Linked DNA regions of Homo sapiens: region 2 is linked to region 1. Evidence: promoter capture Hi-C in human tissues and cell types (Jung and others, 2019). All regions are on one chromosome and are shown on one strand. Each heading gives the region's core, a stretch centred on a gene start or on the middle of the fragment in contact. The rest is flanking DNA. Distances are from core to core; before and after follow the strand shown. Region 1 holds the start of HAPLN3 (hyaluronan and proteoglycan link protein 3). Region 2 has its middle 80 kb from the start of ACAN.

Region 1 (7,776 bases), core at 3,498-5,997:
CCCATCAGCCCTGGACCTCCTCCACTTGCACTGTCCTATGAGAGAGAAACAGAGTCCTATCATATTTAAGCCACCACTTTTTTGCATCTTTTTTTTTTTGAGACTAAGTCTCACTCTGTCGCCCAGGCTGGAGTGCAATGGTGCAATCTCGGCTCACTGCAACTTCTGCTCCCAGATTCAAGCAATTCTTCCTGCCTCAGCCTCCTGAGTAGCTGAGATTACAGGCACCTGCCACCACACCAGGCTAATTTTTGTAATTTTTTAGTAGAGACGGGGTTTCGCCATGTTGGCCAAGCTAGTCTTGAACTCCTGACCTCAGGTGATCTGCCCACCTCGGCCTCCCAAAGTGCTGGGATTACAGGCGTGAGCCACTGCACCCGGCCTGCATCTCTTTGTCAACACAGCTTAGCCTCACTTGTCCTAACAAATACACACACCACAGCATTACTATGATCAGTATAAAAGTATTAACAGCTGAGCACTTACTCTCTCATTTATTTTATTTTTGTTTTTGTTTTGAGGCCAAGTCTCACTCTGTCGCCCAGGCTGGAGTGCAGTGGTAAGATCTCGGCTCATAGCAACCTCTGCCTCCTGGGTTCAAATGAATCTCCTGCCTCAGCCTCCCAAGTAGCTGGGATTACAGGTGTGTGCCACCACACCCAGCTAATTCTTTGTATTTCTAGTAGAGATGGGGTTTCACCATGTTGCCCAGGCTGGTCTCAAACTCCTGGGCTTAATTGTTCTGCCCGCCTCCGCCTCCCAAAGTGCTGGTATTACAGGCATGAGCCACCACACCTGGTATCTCTCATGTAATCCTTACCACTACCCTGACATGTGAGCCTAGTAGTGTTCCCATTTTGCAGATGGAAAAACCAAGGCACAGAGAGACTAAGTCATATGCCCAAGGTCATCCAGCTAGGAAGTGGCAGAGCTAGGATTCGAACCCACTCCAGCCCCAAAGCCTGGAACCATGCCAAATTCAGGGAGGTGATTGTGTGGCACACACAGCCCAGTGGCCCAGAGCAAACCCTTGTAAGAGTTCGTTTCCTCTGCCTTCCTTCAGGCTCCACACCTGGAACCAGGAGGGAAGTGGGGCCAAGATTTGATGTTGAGCTTGATGTCCTGGGCTCCCCGCTGTCCCTGGGCACCTAGAGTCTCCTTGAGCAGAGGGGCTCCCAGCTGCTGCTTATAATGTTTCCAGCCTCTTACAGCGGCTCATCTAGCACAAATGCTCCCTAGTGAGAAAGGGCTTCCTAAGGGTAAACAAATGCAGGCGTTTCTGCCACTAAGTGACATCAGTAACACCTCTTTGTTGGATGCTAACTCAGCAGTAATGTAACCTCACATTGAGGGGGATGCCAAGAAAATCAAAAGGAATTAGCTGGGCACAGTGGCTTACACCTGTTATCCCAGCACTTTGGAGGCCAAGGAGGGTAGATCACCTGAGGTCAGGAGTTTGAGACCAGCTTGGCCAACATGGTAAAACCCCGTCTCTACTAAAAATATAAAAAATAGATGGGTGTGGTGGTGGGTGCCTGTAATCCCAGCTACTCCAGAGGCTGAGGCAGGAGAATTGCTTGAACCTGGGAGGCAGAGGTTGCAGTGAGCCGAGATCACACCTTTGCACTCCAGCCTGGGCGACAGAGTGAAACTGCATCTCAAAAAAAAAAGAAAAGAAAAACAAAAGGAATTATAAGAAAAGATCAGCCCTGTGCCCAAGAACAAAAGGCCAGGAGGAAGCTGGCCATTTTCCAGGCCTCTCTGAGAGAGGAGCAGCACACAGGCCCAAGGTTTCAAGTTAAACTCATTGAGGTTGGGTCTTGGCTCTGCCACCTGCTAGCTGGGTGACCCTGGGAAAGTCATTTGACCTCTCTGAACAGAAAATTTCCTCTCTCCAGAGAAGACTAAAGGGGAACTCGGGGGCTGAGGACAAGCACAGCCTTGAATGCTAAGGTCAGTGCACAGGACAGAGTCCTGTGTGGGAGTCAGGAGTGGCAATTGCCACTTGGTTGCTGCCTTGCCTCAGGTCCATCTCTGACCATCCCTGACCACTACCACTGAGGGGAGGGATGGGTAGCCTCTGCTCCCCTACCATGGCTATCCAGCCACCAACTCCTCAGGACCACCACAGAGGTGCCACCAGCTGGAAGGCCCAAGACCAAGTCCAGCCCAGTCACCTTGGCAGTGGATAGTTCCCCAAATCTTCTGGAGTCCTGTCTGGGCACTCAGACCTGGGCTCGGTATTGGAGCTGGACACACTGCATCCTGCTGAGTGACTTCGGGCAAGTTCACCTCTCTGTGCCTCCATTTCCTCATCTGTAAAAAAAAGGAACTTAAGGCCGGGTGCAGTGGCTCACACCTGTAATCCTACAGCATTTGGGGAAGCTGAGGGGGTGGATCACCTGAGGTCAGGAGTTCGAGACTGGCCTGGCCAACACAGTGAAACCCCCATCTCTAATGAAAATACAAAATTTAGCTGGGTGTGGTGGCAGATGCCTGTAATCCCAGCTACTGGGGTGGCTAAGGCAGGAGAATTGTTTGAACCCAGGAGGCGGAAGTTGCAGTGAGCCAAGACCACACCACTGCACTCCAGACTGGCCGACAGAGCAAGACTCCAGCTCAAAAAAAAAAAATGGGCTGTGGTGACAATTATAGAAGATGTATGATGTCTGGTCCCTGGCATGCAGCAGGTGCTCAACAAATGAACATGGCAAAGATTTCAGGCTCTAGAAGCAGATTGGCTGCCTGCATTCAGTTCTGGCTCCACCCACTTACTAACCCTCTGTCATTGGACAAGTCGCTGCACCTCTCTGAGCCTCAGTTTCTTCATCTTTAAAATGGGGGTCACAAGCCAGGCACAGTGCCTCATGCCTGTTATCCCTGCACTTTGGGAGGCTGAGGTGGGCAGATCACCTGAGGTCAAGAGTTCAAGACTAGCCTGGCCAACACGGTGAAACCCCATCTCTACTAAAAATACAAAAATTAGCCGAGTGTGGTGATGAGCGCTTGTAGTCCCAGCTACTCGGGAGGCTGAAGCAGAAGAATCGCTTGAACCCAGGAGGCGGAGGTTGCAGTGAGCCGAGATTGAGCCATTGCACTCCAGTCTGGGCAAGAAGAGTGAGACTCCATCTCAAAAAAAAAAAAAAAGTTGGGGTGGGGGGGGCGGTCACGACAATACCAAACAGAAAACACTCTCGTGAAGATTAAGGGAGAGAATAGCTGCAGAGCACTGAAAATACTGCTTGATGCTTGATAAGGAGCAAGCACTGGGAAAATATGACCTGTTACTACTCTGGTGAGCAGTTCACACAGTGAAGTCTTACACCATCTCAGTGGCTCTTTCTCCTCTCTCACTGCCTACGAGACAAAGTGGTCACCACTGCCTCCTCTTCACAGTTGAGGAAACTGAGGCCAAGAGAGTGGAGGTCAGTGAACTACCCAAGGCGTTATCTTTGTCAAATATCTCGAACTTAGAGAAAGTTCAGGTTTCCTGATGACCAGCCCTTTGCTTTTCCCAGGCGCCCCAGCCTAGGGACCCCTCCACCCAAGAACAATAAGCCTGGGCTTGGAGGGAGGGTAGGTGCCACCTCCCTGCCAGGTGCATGTCCGCACTGGGCCTTCCGTGAGTACAAGTCCCCCAGGTACCAGCAGGAGGCAGCATCGCCCGCGAGGTCTGCACGAGCGCTGCTCCCAGCGAGAAATTTGACATCCCTGTCCCTGTTTGCACAAGGCTTGATCTCCGCCTTTGAAACCTGCAGCCCCCAGGAGAATGAAAACCGGAGGTGTTTCCCAATCCGCTGGCCCGGGCGGCGTCGAGGGAGAGAAGCCAGGGCCCCTCTCAATCGCTGCCCCCTACTCCAGGGAGCACAGGCACTCCCGCGGGTCAGCGCTGGACACCAAGGTCCCAACAGGTTTACAGGCTGCCTGTGGCCTGTGGCTGCCAACGAGCTGGTGGCAGGACTGGGTCCAAGTGCCGTGCTGTTTCCATACTGGCTGCGCACAAGCCTACGTTTCTCCCTGAGGGTCGCCATCTCCCACCCAGGGCTCTGCCCTCCACCCTCCCTACCCTTCTGGCCTCGCTGTCCCTGGGGCAAGAACCCCGGTGAGCGAGGTCTGGAACCCATAGGCATCAGTTGCCTTTGCCCCAGGCGCCCAGAGCCGGCCAGCTGCGGTCCAGAGGCGCAGGTCCGCCAGCCGCCTCGCAGGTTGCCCTCAGCCCCTCCCAGGACTCCCGGGGCCCCCGGAGCATCCAACAGATACCCAGGGGCAGGGCCTGGGGCGCCGCGGACGGCACTGGAGGCAGCCGACCCTGGACAGACGACAGGGGAGAGAGCCAAGCGGACCCTGGCAGGAAGGGGGCTGGAGGCGGACGGTGGTCTCGGAGGCCACGGGGTCCGCTCGGGCTCTGCTCCCTCACGGTGGGCACGAGGGTCCGGCGCCCGCATCCCCGCGCCGCTCCCTCCCCACTTGTGCCCCGGGCGCCCCTCGCCCGCGATCACAGCCCATCTCAGCCCGGGCCTCCGCAGTGCCCGGCCCACGCCTCCTGCCCCTTCCCCGGACCCTGCCCGGGAGGTGTGGGGACCCGCAGGGCACCCAAAGCGGTAAGGGAGGAACCCGGCCCGCACACAGCCCCAGAAGCCCAGCGACCCCTAAGCCACGTACCGTCCCCAGGCAGCTCCTCGACGGCTAGAGCTCTCGGGGGCCGCGAGCTGTCCCGGTCCAAGGCAGCAGTCTGATTTCGGGGAAATTAAAAGGGCAGAAAGGAAGCGGCAGCAGAAAAACCCCCGCGCTCCCGCCAGACCAGCCCCTTAAAGGAACACGCGCACCTTTCCCTCCCAAGGGCTGGGCTCGAAGGGAGGAGCTGCTGCAGGCTTGAGCGGTCTCCAGACTCGCTGGGAACCACCGCAAAGAGGGTGTGCAAGAGTTGAGGCCCTCACGTCTTGGGAAAGGAGAGTAGGGGTGGAATAGGAGAGTTTGGGGAGGGGGGATCCCCTTAGAAAGCCTGGTATACCAAAAACAGTGGGAGTAAGCAGGGGAAGCCCCTGTCCAGCATTCTGCTAGGGGCTAAGGCTGCTCCCCACCTTTGATTGTGGAAGGGGTGAGACTTCTGTATTACTTTCTTTTCCAAATAGAAAGCAAGGGGGTGAGGCCAGGTGCAGTGAGTGGCTCATGCTTGTAACCCCAGCACTTTGGGAGGTGGAGGCCGGTGGATCACCTGAGGTCAGGAGTTCAAGACCAGCCTGGGCAACATGGTGAAACCCTGTCCCTACTAAAAATACAAAATTAGCTGGGCGTGGTGGAGCATGCCTGTAATCCCAGCTACTTGGGAGGCTGAGGCAGGAGAATTGCTTGAACCCAGGAGGCGGAGGTTGCAGTGAGCTGAGATCATGCCATTGTGCTCCAGCCTGGGCAACAAGAGCAAAACTCCGTCTCAAAAAAAAAAAAAAAAAAAAAGCAAGGGGTTGCTGATGTCCTCATGCCCCTGAGTTTGGCCATCATGAAACACTGGCCAGATTCCCAACTCACTGTCAGGCACATAGCAGGTGCTATCCCCAGCACATGGGGCTTGAATGAGTGGCCCTGGCTGGGAGGGGAGACACAGGGTGGGATACCTCTGCAGCCTGCAGGGGCAATCAGGCTTCTGAGTGGTCCTCCAACAGGGGTGGGCCTCCCTTCGGAATCCTGCTAATCAGCACAGCCATCCAGGCAGCCGCTCAGGATGCCTCTGTTTGGACAGGGTGTTTTCTTTCCTGTCCAGACCAATGGGGGCCCTGGCCTGGACAGCCCGATGTTTCCTCAGCAGAAAAGACTAAGGAGGTCCTTCAGCTTTGGCTGGGGGAAGGGTCGAAGGGTCACAGGGTCACAGAGCTCAGAGCCTCTTCCTAAACACAGCTCAAGTTGGCCCATGAGTGTGTGTGTGTGTGTGCATGTGTGTGTGTTACACACAGCCAGGGGCACATTGGAGCACAAAGAACTGTGATCAACAGGTAAACTACACCTAAAAGGAACGCCAGGCTTGATGGGCAAAGGGGAGCCAAGGTAGGTCCCTCTGCAGGTTCCCGACAGGGGAGAGGATGGACAGTAGGGAGAGCACATTTTGCTACAGTTAAGTCGAGTTGAACATGCCAGCCAGGGGTAGGGGTAGCCAGCAGGTGGAATCTGAACGCTCACCCTCTGCCTTGCAGTGGGGCAGAAAAAAGTCAATGTGTAGGGGTGATGGTAAAAGCTGGGCAAATGGAAGACACTGCTGAGGGAGAGAAGCCAAGGAAGGAAGGAGGGGGTCAGGAGTGAGGGGACTCCACTCCAGGGTCCCAGGAGGGGGACTTTTAGAAGGCTGTGGCCAACCCATCCCAGAGCAGAGATGCTTCTCCCACTGTCTGCTTATCCCCAGGGTATGCTGGAACAGGGGTTCAGGGCAGGAAACTCCCCCGGGAGGGAGACCTGAGGCTTGGAAGCACGCAGAAAGGCTTGGCTCTAAACCCAATCCACACCGCTCCGCAGAAGAGAGCTCTGAAACGGGAGGCAGTAGGCCAAGGGACACCCAGGGGAAGGGAGTCCCCCATCCTCAGTTCCTACGAAGACCACGGCCTGGGCCTTTTATTCAGACCCTGCTAGGCCCAGGAGCCCAGCAACCGCAGGTCTCAGAAAGGAACCACTTCCAGACACATTTCCCTGATGTGGTTCCAGCAAAGCCACGCCCTCCCTTTGGCAGCCCTGTGGCCCCACCTCCTGCTGCTCAGAGGCGGCCCCACCTCCTGCTGCTCAGAGGCGGCCCCACCTCCTGCTGCTCAGATGCACCCCCTGCCTGCAGAACACAGCCGGCTCCCAAAGTTTGGAAAAATTCACCTTGACAAAGAGGGTGGTTTTTCCTACACCCCTTCCCAAGCTAGCCAAGCCTCTGCCTGCAAGTCACCCTTCCAGATCACCAAGACACTGGCCCGCAAGGCCCACCCCCACTTCTTGATGACCCCCACACAGGGGAGGGCAGAGAGGGTATCCCTGGAGCACACACGCCAGTGGCCTACCAGGAACCAGTGTGTTCAGGCAGGAGGCCTCATGCCCACTTGGCAGAGCCCCGGCCCCCTCCTCCAGTCCCACGCTGCACCCACCCCAGGAACTCCCGCAGTTCGGAAGGCATCCAGGTTCACTGAGTTTCTTATAGTTTCTCCAGCCCACCACTCCAGTTGCAGAGAGAATGGAAACTGCTGAAGGGGAAAACCAGCTGCCCCAGCCAGTCTTCCTGGCAGGAAGGGAGCAAAAGCATTCAGGAGACAGTGTCTGCCAGCACTCGCTGGGCCCCTGACCAGGCAGCAGTTGTAGGGCTCAGGGCCAGACGGCATGGAGGTAGAAAGCAGAGGGAAGAGGGGAAGTCAGGTTTTGAGGACCTGGAAGTCCTGACTTCCTTCAGGCCGCCCTGGACCAAAGTCTCCAGCCTCCTGCTATGAAGCTATGTGTAGTCAGGCAGGTGACATAAAGAAAGATGGGGCTGGGCACGGTGGCTCACGCCTGTAATCCCAGCACTTTGGGAGGCCGAGGCAGGTGGATCACAAGGTCAAGAGATTGAGACAATCCTGGCCAACACGGTGAAACCCTGTCTCTACTAAAAATATAAAACTTAGCTGGGCATGGTGGTGTGCACCTATAGTCCCAGCTACTTGGGAGGCTGAGGTAGGAGAAATGCTTGAACCCAGGAGGCAGAGATTGCAATGAGCCGAGATCACACCACTGCACTCCAGCCTGGCGACAGAGCAAGACTCCATCTCAAAAAAAAAAAAA
Region 2 (7,776 bases), core at 3,352-5,851, 170 kb before region 1:
AAAGGACACTTGTTTATAGACAAGCACTGAAAGAAGGCAGAATGTACCCTTGTTCAGCCTCAGTGGGAGCATGTGCATTTGGTGACTCAACTTTTTCACCGCTCTGCACTTACCTGTGAATGACTGTAACAGGGCCACAAGTGCTGATTTGGAGATTACAAATAAATCTCAGCAGGGAGGCAAATTCACAAAGAAGAATTGACCCTAAGTCCCTCATCTTCTCCCTTCCTTCTTTTTTTCCTTCTGGCTCCTCTCCGCTATACCCCATCGTCAGTCCAGCTCATCCTCACATTTGCTCATACAGCAAACACTTACCAAGCAGCAAGTGCATGCCAGGCTCTGTGCTATGGACTTTGTGGGCTCCAAAAAATGCATTGGATGGGGATCCCGTCCTCAAGTAGTCTGTAGCCTAGATCAGGGTCTGCACACTTTAGGGCCAAATAGTAAATAGGTTAGGTTTTGCGGCTACACGGTGTCTGTCACAATTACTTAACTCTGCCTGTCTCCCTACCACGGCTCTTTCTCCCTGGGCTAATCTCTCTCCTCTCCCTGAGTATCATCAGTTCTCATCTAGATCCACTGGAAACCTTCCCCCGCAAATGAAAGAGCAAAGAGCAGGAATCATGACTGTGTTCTCATCACTATATCAGACCTAGCACAGTAGGGACTCTGTAGATTTGTTGGCTGGAACAGTAAGTGCACAGACCAGTGTCCTATATTTATGATTGTACAGGACCCAACTTTTGGCCCCAATATACTCTGAAAACATTTTTTTTTTTTTTGAGACGGAGTTTCATTCTTGTTGCCCAGACTGGAGTGCAACGGCACAACCTCAGCTCACCGCAACCTCTGCCTCCCGGGTTCAAGTGATTCTCTTGCCTCAGCCTCCAAAGTAGCTGGGACTACAGGCACCCACCACCACGCCCGACTAATTTTTTGTATTTTTAGTAGAGACGGGGTTTCACCATGTTGGCCAGGCTGGTCTCAAACTCCTGACCTCAGGTGATCCACCCACCTCAGCCTCCCAAAATACTGGGATTACAGGCATGAGCCATCACGCCTGGCCTGAAAACATTTGAAGCCAACTCTGTGATTATATTTAAAAACAGACACCTCTGGTGCCCTGCCTGGAAACAACCCCTAAGTCACTTCTTTAGGGATGAACACCTGCTGGTCCCCCACCCTGACATTTTCCTCAGGGAAGGGATCCAAAAGGGCATGATGGGTGCACGGTTGAGAAAGTGAAAGGGGCTCCTCCTCCTTTTTTTCCTTCTTATTCCTCTCTTTTCTGTCCCTCACTTTCCCTTCCTCTCCCCAGGGAAAATGGGGTAGCCAGGAGGCTGCTGAGGGTTGTCTCTGGTTCCTGAGAGCAGAGGGGCAAAGGTCCCTGATCTCTGAGTTGTCCATCCCAGCTCTCTCATGCCCATGGCAGATGTCCCAGTGGACACAACATCCCACTGCAGTTGGCTGAGACCCCCCAGGGTTATTTCTCCTGGTCTCAGTGCAGCTGCAGGCAGCTGGATTTAGATCTAGTGGACAGGGAATCCCAGCAGGGTCCCATCACCTACACAAAAGGAAGGGGACACTAGGTAGTGGTCAGATGAGTCAAGAAGAAAGTAAACGTCCAGCACCCACCCTTAAATCCTGCTGCACAGATCTGCCTCTCCAGTTAAAGACAGCCCCAATCTGGAAGCCCATGGCTCTGACCCCCGTGAAGGTGTGTGTGCGTGCATACATGCACGTACGTACATGACCTTATGGTTTACAAGGTGGGAAAGAAATCTGAAGTTGGTTTAGGGTTTCTTCTCTGTGTGTCACTTCTATCTGTAAAGTCCCCACCCAACAGGGAAAGACTGAGGAAATCTGGGACTCCAGGGTTGAGGGGGAACTGTGGGTTTGTGTGAAGATTAATCATCCATCATTCACACTTGCTCATGAATCTTCTACAAGCCCATACAAAAAGGCGCCTCACACTACCCCTCAAGGCTGGGTTCATAAGGGAAGCCCAAATGGGATTGGCCCAACACCATGCTGACAAAGCCAAGAAGAGAGAGAAGATGCAAGCTGCCTCAATGGAACCAGCTCTGAGTGAGGCCCACCACACCTGCACTTGCAGAGGAAACTCCTCTATGAATGCAGCCTCAGGGCTAGAGCAGACAGGGGAGGACCCATGAGGGTGCCATGAGTGGCTCCAGACCATCCCAGAACAGAGGGCCAGGACCACTCAAAACCATGTAATCATTGGGTCTACAGAAACCACGTGCTTGAGAAATGGAAGCCCTGGAGGGGCCCAGAGAGGCAGGTGACATAGACTCAACGCAGCCTGAGGCTAGCAGGCATGGCCATGGGAGCTAGGAAGTGGGCCTCTTCAAGCTCCAAACTTCTCCTCTATACTGAGAGCTAACACTGACACTCCTCACAGGCTTGTTGGGAGAATTAATCAGAAGCCTTAGCACAGTGCTTGGCATGTCGTAAGTCATTGTAAGTCTTCAAAATCTTAGTAGCCATGAGGACAAAGATCATGATGATGATGGAATTCTTTTAGCTCCTAGAAATGTTCCCTTTCTTGCCAGAGTCTTCAAAATCTTAGTAGCCATGAGGACAAAGATCGTGATGATGATGGAATTCTTTTAGCTCCTAGAAATGTTCCCTTTCTTGTCAGCTCCAGGTGTCTTATCTACAAAAATGAGAAGGCTCAGCCCAATAAGTCTTAAAATGGCTTTTAGACCTAATGATTAGGACTCTAGGAGTTTGCACATTCTGGCATTCTACAGAAAGGAACTAATGCCCTGACACAGTCCTGGAAAGGTCCAATTGCCCGCAAGGCTGCTCAGAGCAGAACTGGTAATAACCCAGCAGAGATGTAAACAGGCAGCATTACTCTGCATTCTTAACAGCCTCCAAACTGATGCCGCCTTCTCTCTTGACCTTCACAGCCAGGTGATAGGGCCTGGCACAGGAACAGTGCCTTGAAAATGCCCTACCTAGTCAACATCCTCCCTGCCCCTCCCCGTGGTGACCCACTGTTCTGACTTTTTTTTTTTTTTTTTTTGAGACGGAATCTCTCTGTCGTCAGACTGGAGTGCAGTGGCGCAATCTCGGCTCATTGCAACCTCCGCCTCCCAGTTTCAAGAAATTCTCCTGCCTCAGCCTCCCAAGTAGCTGGGATTACAGGTGCATGTCACCATGCCTGGCTAATTTTTTTTGTATTTTTAGTGGAGACAGGGTTTCACCATATTGGCCAGGCTGGTCTCGAACTCCTGACTTTGTGATCTGCCCTCCTCAGCCTCCCAAAGTGATGGGATTACAGGCATGAGCCACCTGCCTGGCCTGTTCTGACTTTTATCAACACACATTAGTTTTTCCTCATATAAATGGACCAACGAGTATGCATTCTTTTATCTCTGTCAACCTTTCTTCAACATAATGTTTTTGAGATTCTTTCGTATTGTTGTGCATCAATAATCTATTCATTCTTCATTCAAGAATAATTCGTTCTTCTGATTGCTGAGAAGTATTCCATTATGCGGATGTGCCACAATTTGTTTATCCATTCAGGGACATTGGGTTGTTTTCAGTTTGGGGCTATTATGAATAAAGCTGCTATGTTTTTCAACAAACGTTCCATTGCTATTCATGAGGGAAAATTGTCTTGCAATAAATGATACTAGAGCAATTGGATATCTATTTGGAAAAAATTAACTTTTACCCCTAACTTATACTTCATGCAAAAATTAATTCAAAATGGATTATAGGCCTTAAGTTGGGAGGGTAAAACAGTCAGTCTTCCATAAGAAAACATAAAAAAAGTCTTCATGACCTTGGGGAGAGCAAGAATTTATAAACAGGGCATAAACGCATTAATCACTAAAGAAAAAAAAAGAACTTTATTAATGTCCTTTATCCAAAGACATCACTAAGAAAATGAATAGATAAGCCAAAGACTGGGAGATGTTTGTAATACATATATATAACTGACAAAGTAGTCCTGTTAAAAATATTTATTTTTGAAACTCCACAAGTCAATAAAAAGAAATAACAAAAAAATAGGCAAAAGATTTGAATATTAACAAACGCTATCCAAATGTCTATTAAACTTGTAAAAAAAAAAAAATACCCAGTATCGGGCCAGGTGCGGTGGCTCACGCCTGTAATCCCAGCAGTTTGGGAGGCTGAGGTGGGCGGATCATGAGGTCAGGAGATCGAGACCATCTTGGCTAACACGGTGAAACCCTGTCTCTACTAAAAGTACAAAAATTAGTCGGGCATGGTGGCAGGCGCCTGTAGTCCCAACTACTTGTAAGGCTGAGGCAGGAGAATGACATGAACCCAGGAGGCAGAGCTTGCAGTGAGCAGATTGCGCCACTGCACTCCAGCCTGGGGGACAGAGTGAGACTCCGTCTCAGAAAAAAATATATATATATCATTCATCAGTGCAAACTGAAGCCATAATGAGACATTACTACAAACCCACCAGAAAAAGTGAAATCAAAGACTGACAAGGGCTCGGAGCAACTGGAACTCTCATCTATGGTTGGTGGGAGGGTAAATTGGTTCAAGCACTTTGGAAAAATGTTTGGTCGGGTCTACTAAAGGTAAACAGCACTGTATGACCCAGAAATTCCACCTCTGGGTACAGAGCCAACAGAAAGGAGTCCAAATATTCACCAAAGAGACATGCACAAATATGTCTATAGAAGCTTTATTCATAATACTCAGCATACTTTAGTCCAGATAAAATAATAACGTAATCTTCTTCTTTTTTCTTTTTTTTTTTGAGACAGAGTCTCACTCTGTCACCCAGGCTGGAGTCCAGTGGTGCAATCTTGGCTCACTGCAACCACCGCCTCCTGGGTTCAAGGACTCTCCTGCCTCAGCCTCCAAAGTAGCTGGGACCACAGGCACCCATCACCATGCCCAGCTAATTTTTGTATTTTTAGTAGAGACAGGGTTTCACCACGTTGGGCAGGCTGGTCTCGAACTCCTGACCTCAAGTGATCCACCCACCTTGGCCTCCCAAAGTGCTGTGATTGCAGATGTGAGCCACTGCACCCAGCCTGTAATCTTCTAAGAAGAGTTCAGCCATAGATTTGAAAGGAGAAGGGCACCGAAAGGGCCACGCAGAGGGCTACCCGCCTCAGTTCAGGATGGAGACAGATAAAAGTGAAACAAAAGCAGGTGGTCCCTGGAAGGGCACTGCTTATCTGATTAACCTGGAGGTGAAGGTGGGAGGTCCTGGTCCAAGCTACCTAAGTAAGTCTTCTCAAGTTACATTTGAGTGTGAGAGCAATGGTCTACTAACGGTGCTCTGCAATTACCTCTTGCATGTGTAAACAGAGTGGATGTGCCCTGTTGGAAAGGACAAGGGATCTACCAGAGAAGCCAGGGAGAGCAAGGTCTCTGAGGGGAACATCTCCCTATTTAGGGTCCCAAGTGGGCACCTACTATTCAGTGAGACCCTTGCACACTGGCTGTAGCTCGCTGGTCCCAAACCACAGTGGAGCCAATTCTGCTTCCAGAGAACTGGATCTTTAGCTGCCCACTGCTCAACCATGCTGCAGCTCTTCTCCTCCCACAAATACTGCCAGGGAAGGACTGTGCTGATGGGGTTCTGGACAGGCAGCTCCATGTCTACCCACATTGGTCGTGCATGACACTGCATGCCCAATATGAAAGCAGCAAGAACCACATTCAAACACAGAATGGAAGGGCTGTTTGACAAGAAGATAAACAAGCAAGGCCCAGTGCAGGCACTGTGGTTTAGAACCCACAGGGAAGGGACACACATGAAACTTGGTCCTGTGTAGTGACCTGGGTCTTCCACAGGAGATATTTGGACAAACCTCCCACCTCAACACACCACAACTTCACTAAACTTTACCTCCTGGTGATAGGGGAAGAACCAAAAAAAAAAAAAAAAAATCTGTCATTTTTAGTAAGAGGAACTATAGAAAAATACTGTTCGGAAAAAATAGAAATTAATATAATGTGTTCCTGTTTTACAAGTAAACAGTTCACAGGAAGCCACAAGACTATTTTAAAATCCCATATTGAAAGTCCAGGAAAGATGTGAGCTATGGCTCCAAAGAAGTGGCTGCTAAAAAATGAACCTGTGTGGCTCAGCTGATGAAACTACAAGTCATCGTAAAAGAAAAGGTATCTTTTCAAAATTGGGAAGTGGGTCCAAGCAAGCACAGGAACCAAGGGGCCCCAGCTGAGAGGTAGCTGGTAGCCTCCAGCTCAGCCAGGGAGTTAAGCCTGGCCCTGCTGTAAGCATTGCTGGGCAGGGCCACCCCAGTGTACCTCCACCACCACCTGGTCGTCCAAATTCCCAACATTTTTCTTCTGTGTGTATTCTGAAACAGAAGTTCCTCTCGTAGAAGCACTGAATTCTCCCACCCTTATGCCTTTTCTTTAATGGCCCTTCTTGACATGGTTTATAGGTAAAAAACATGATTCCAGGAACTTTTTACACAAGACATCCCAAACCAATAATACAAGCTATTTCAAGTCAGCAATGATGCCACAGTCCCTCCACTGTGAAGATCACAGAGGAGGGTGAGGGCAGCGGGGAAATGATGTAGCCTGATGGGGAATCCTAAACGGACAGTGACAGGCAAGTGGGTGAAATGCTCTGAATGAGGGGATACGGGGGCATTGGGAGCCTCAGGGAAGGTTTCTAGGGACCTCAGCTGGGTCTAGAACCAGATGAAAAGGAAGGACATTCCAGGTGGTGGAAGCCCCATGTCCAAAGGTACAGAGAACAGTGCCTTGAAAACTTAGTTGAGGGCTTAGCAGATGGCAGGGGGCATGGGGGAGGGAAGCAGGGTACCAAGAGAGAGGCCAGAGCAGAAGGCAGATGACAGATCTAAAGGAGACTTTCATGCCATACTCTTCTTTGAATCCTACTCTGAAGGCATAACTGATGGCATGGTTTTCATGTTGTCATGACTTATGTCCCATTCACCATGAGAAAGACATTGCTACACAAAGGGAGGTTTGGGAAAGAGCAATTACACCTAGCAAAGCATAGAGGGATTTACACTGACCATAGATTTAAATGTTTGTCTTATTCATTTTCTAGAGGGAAAGAAGAGAGAAGGTGCGCCAAGTGTGATGGCATGAAGAGTATGGAGAACGTTCAGCAGTTGAACCTTGTGGTGGAAACAAAGTACCCCCAAGAAGTTTAGAAAAGGATGCTTTGGGGCCAGGCATGGTGGCTCACGCCTGTAATTCCAGCACTTTGGGAGGCCGAGGTGGGCGGATCACAAGGTCAGGAGATCGAGACCATCCTGGCTAACACGGTGAAACCCCATCTCTACTAAAAATACAAAAAATTAGCTGGGCATAGTGGTGGGCGTCTGTAGTCCCAGCTACTTAGAAGGCTGAGGCAGGAGAATGGCGTGAACCCAGGAGGCGGAGCTTGCAAGATCGCACCACTGTACTCCAGCCTGGGCGACAGAGCGAGACTCCGTCTCAAAAAAAAAAAAAAAAAAAAAAAAAGGATGCCTTTGGAGAAATAATAGGAAGCAATGCTTTACTCAGGAAGCTGCAAACATCTGGAATTAATCCATCCTAGAGATGGTAGGGAGGCAAACAAAAATAGGCTCAAGGAGCGTTTTGATTATTTTGGGGGTGGGAGAGTCAGAGTGATGATTAAGGGAAGCTGGGGCTGTTTGGGACAGGTGCCCGACCATTTGAGGTTGGAGTCCTGTAGAGCAGCGTGCTTTCCCACCAAGGCTTGCAGACAGGGCAGACCAAGGGCTGGGCTGGAAT

The links. The method cuts DNA at HindIII sites, captures the fragments that hold promoters and counts their contacts. A contact is called where the count stands out against the background at its distance.
Region 2: a contact is called between a fragment that was not itself captured here and the fragment with the promoter of HAPLN3 in region 1, in 1 of the 25 tissues and cell types used here (mesendoderm cells).

Annotation. Positions count from the first base shown.
Region 1 is chr15:88,890,797-88,898,572 of GRCh38, forward strand. HAPLN3 (hyaluronan and proteoglycan link protein 3) reads right to left here and starts at 4,748. Exons shown (of 5, transcript NM_178232.4): 1 at 4,663-4,748. RefSeq lists enhancers at 3,974-4,585, 6,582-6,876, 6,813-6,862. The HindIII fragment of the contact is 23,597 bases long and covers 1-7,776 here.
Region 2 is chr15:88,719,828-88,727,603 of GRCh38, forward strand. No RefSeq gene overlaps it. Among named protein-coding and RNA genes, the nearest start is that of ACAN, 80 kb to the right of the region's middle. The HindIII fragment of the contact is 6,960 bases long and covers 1,122-7,776 here.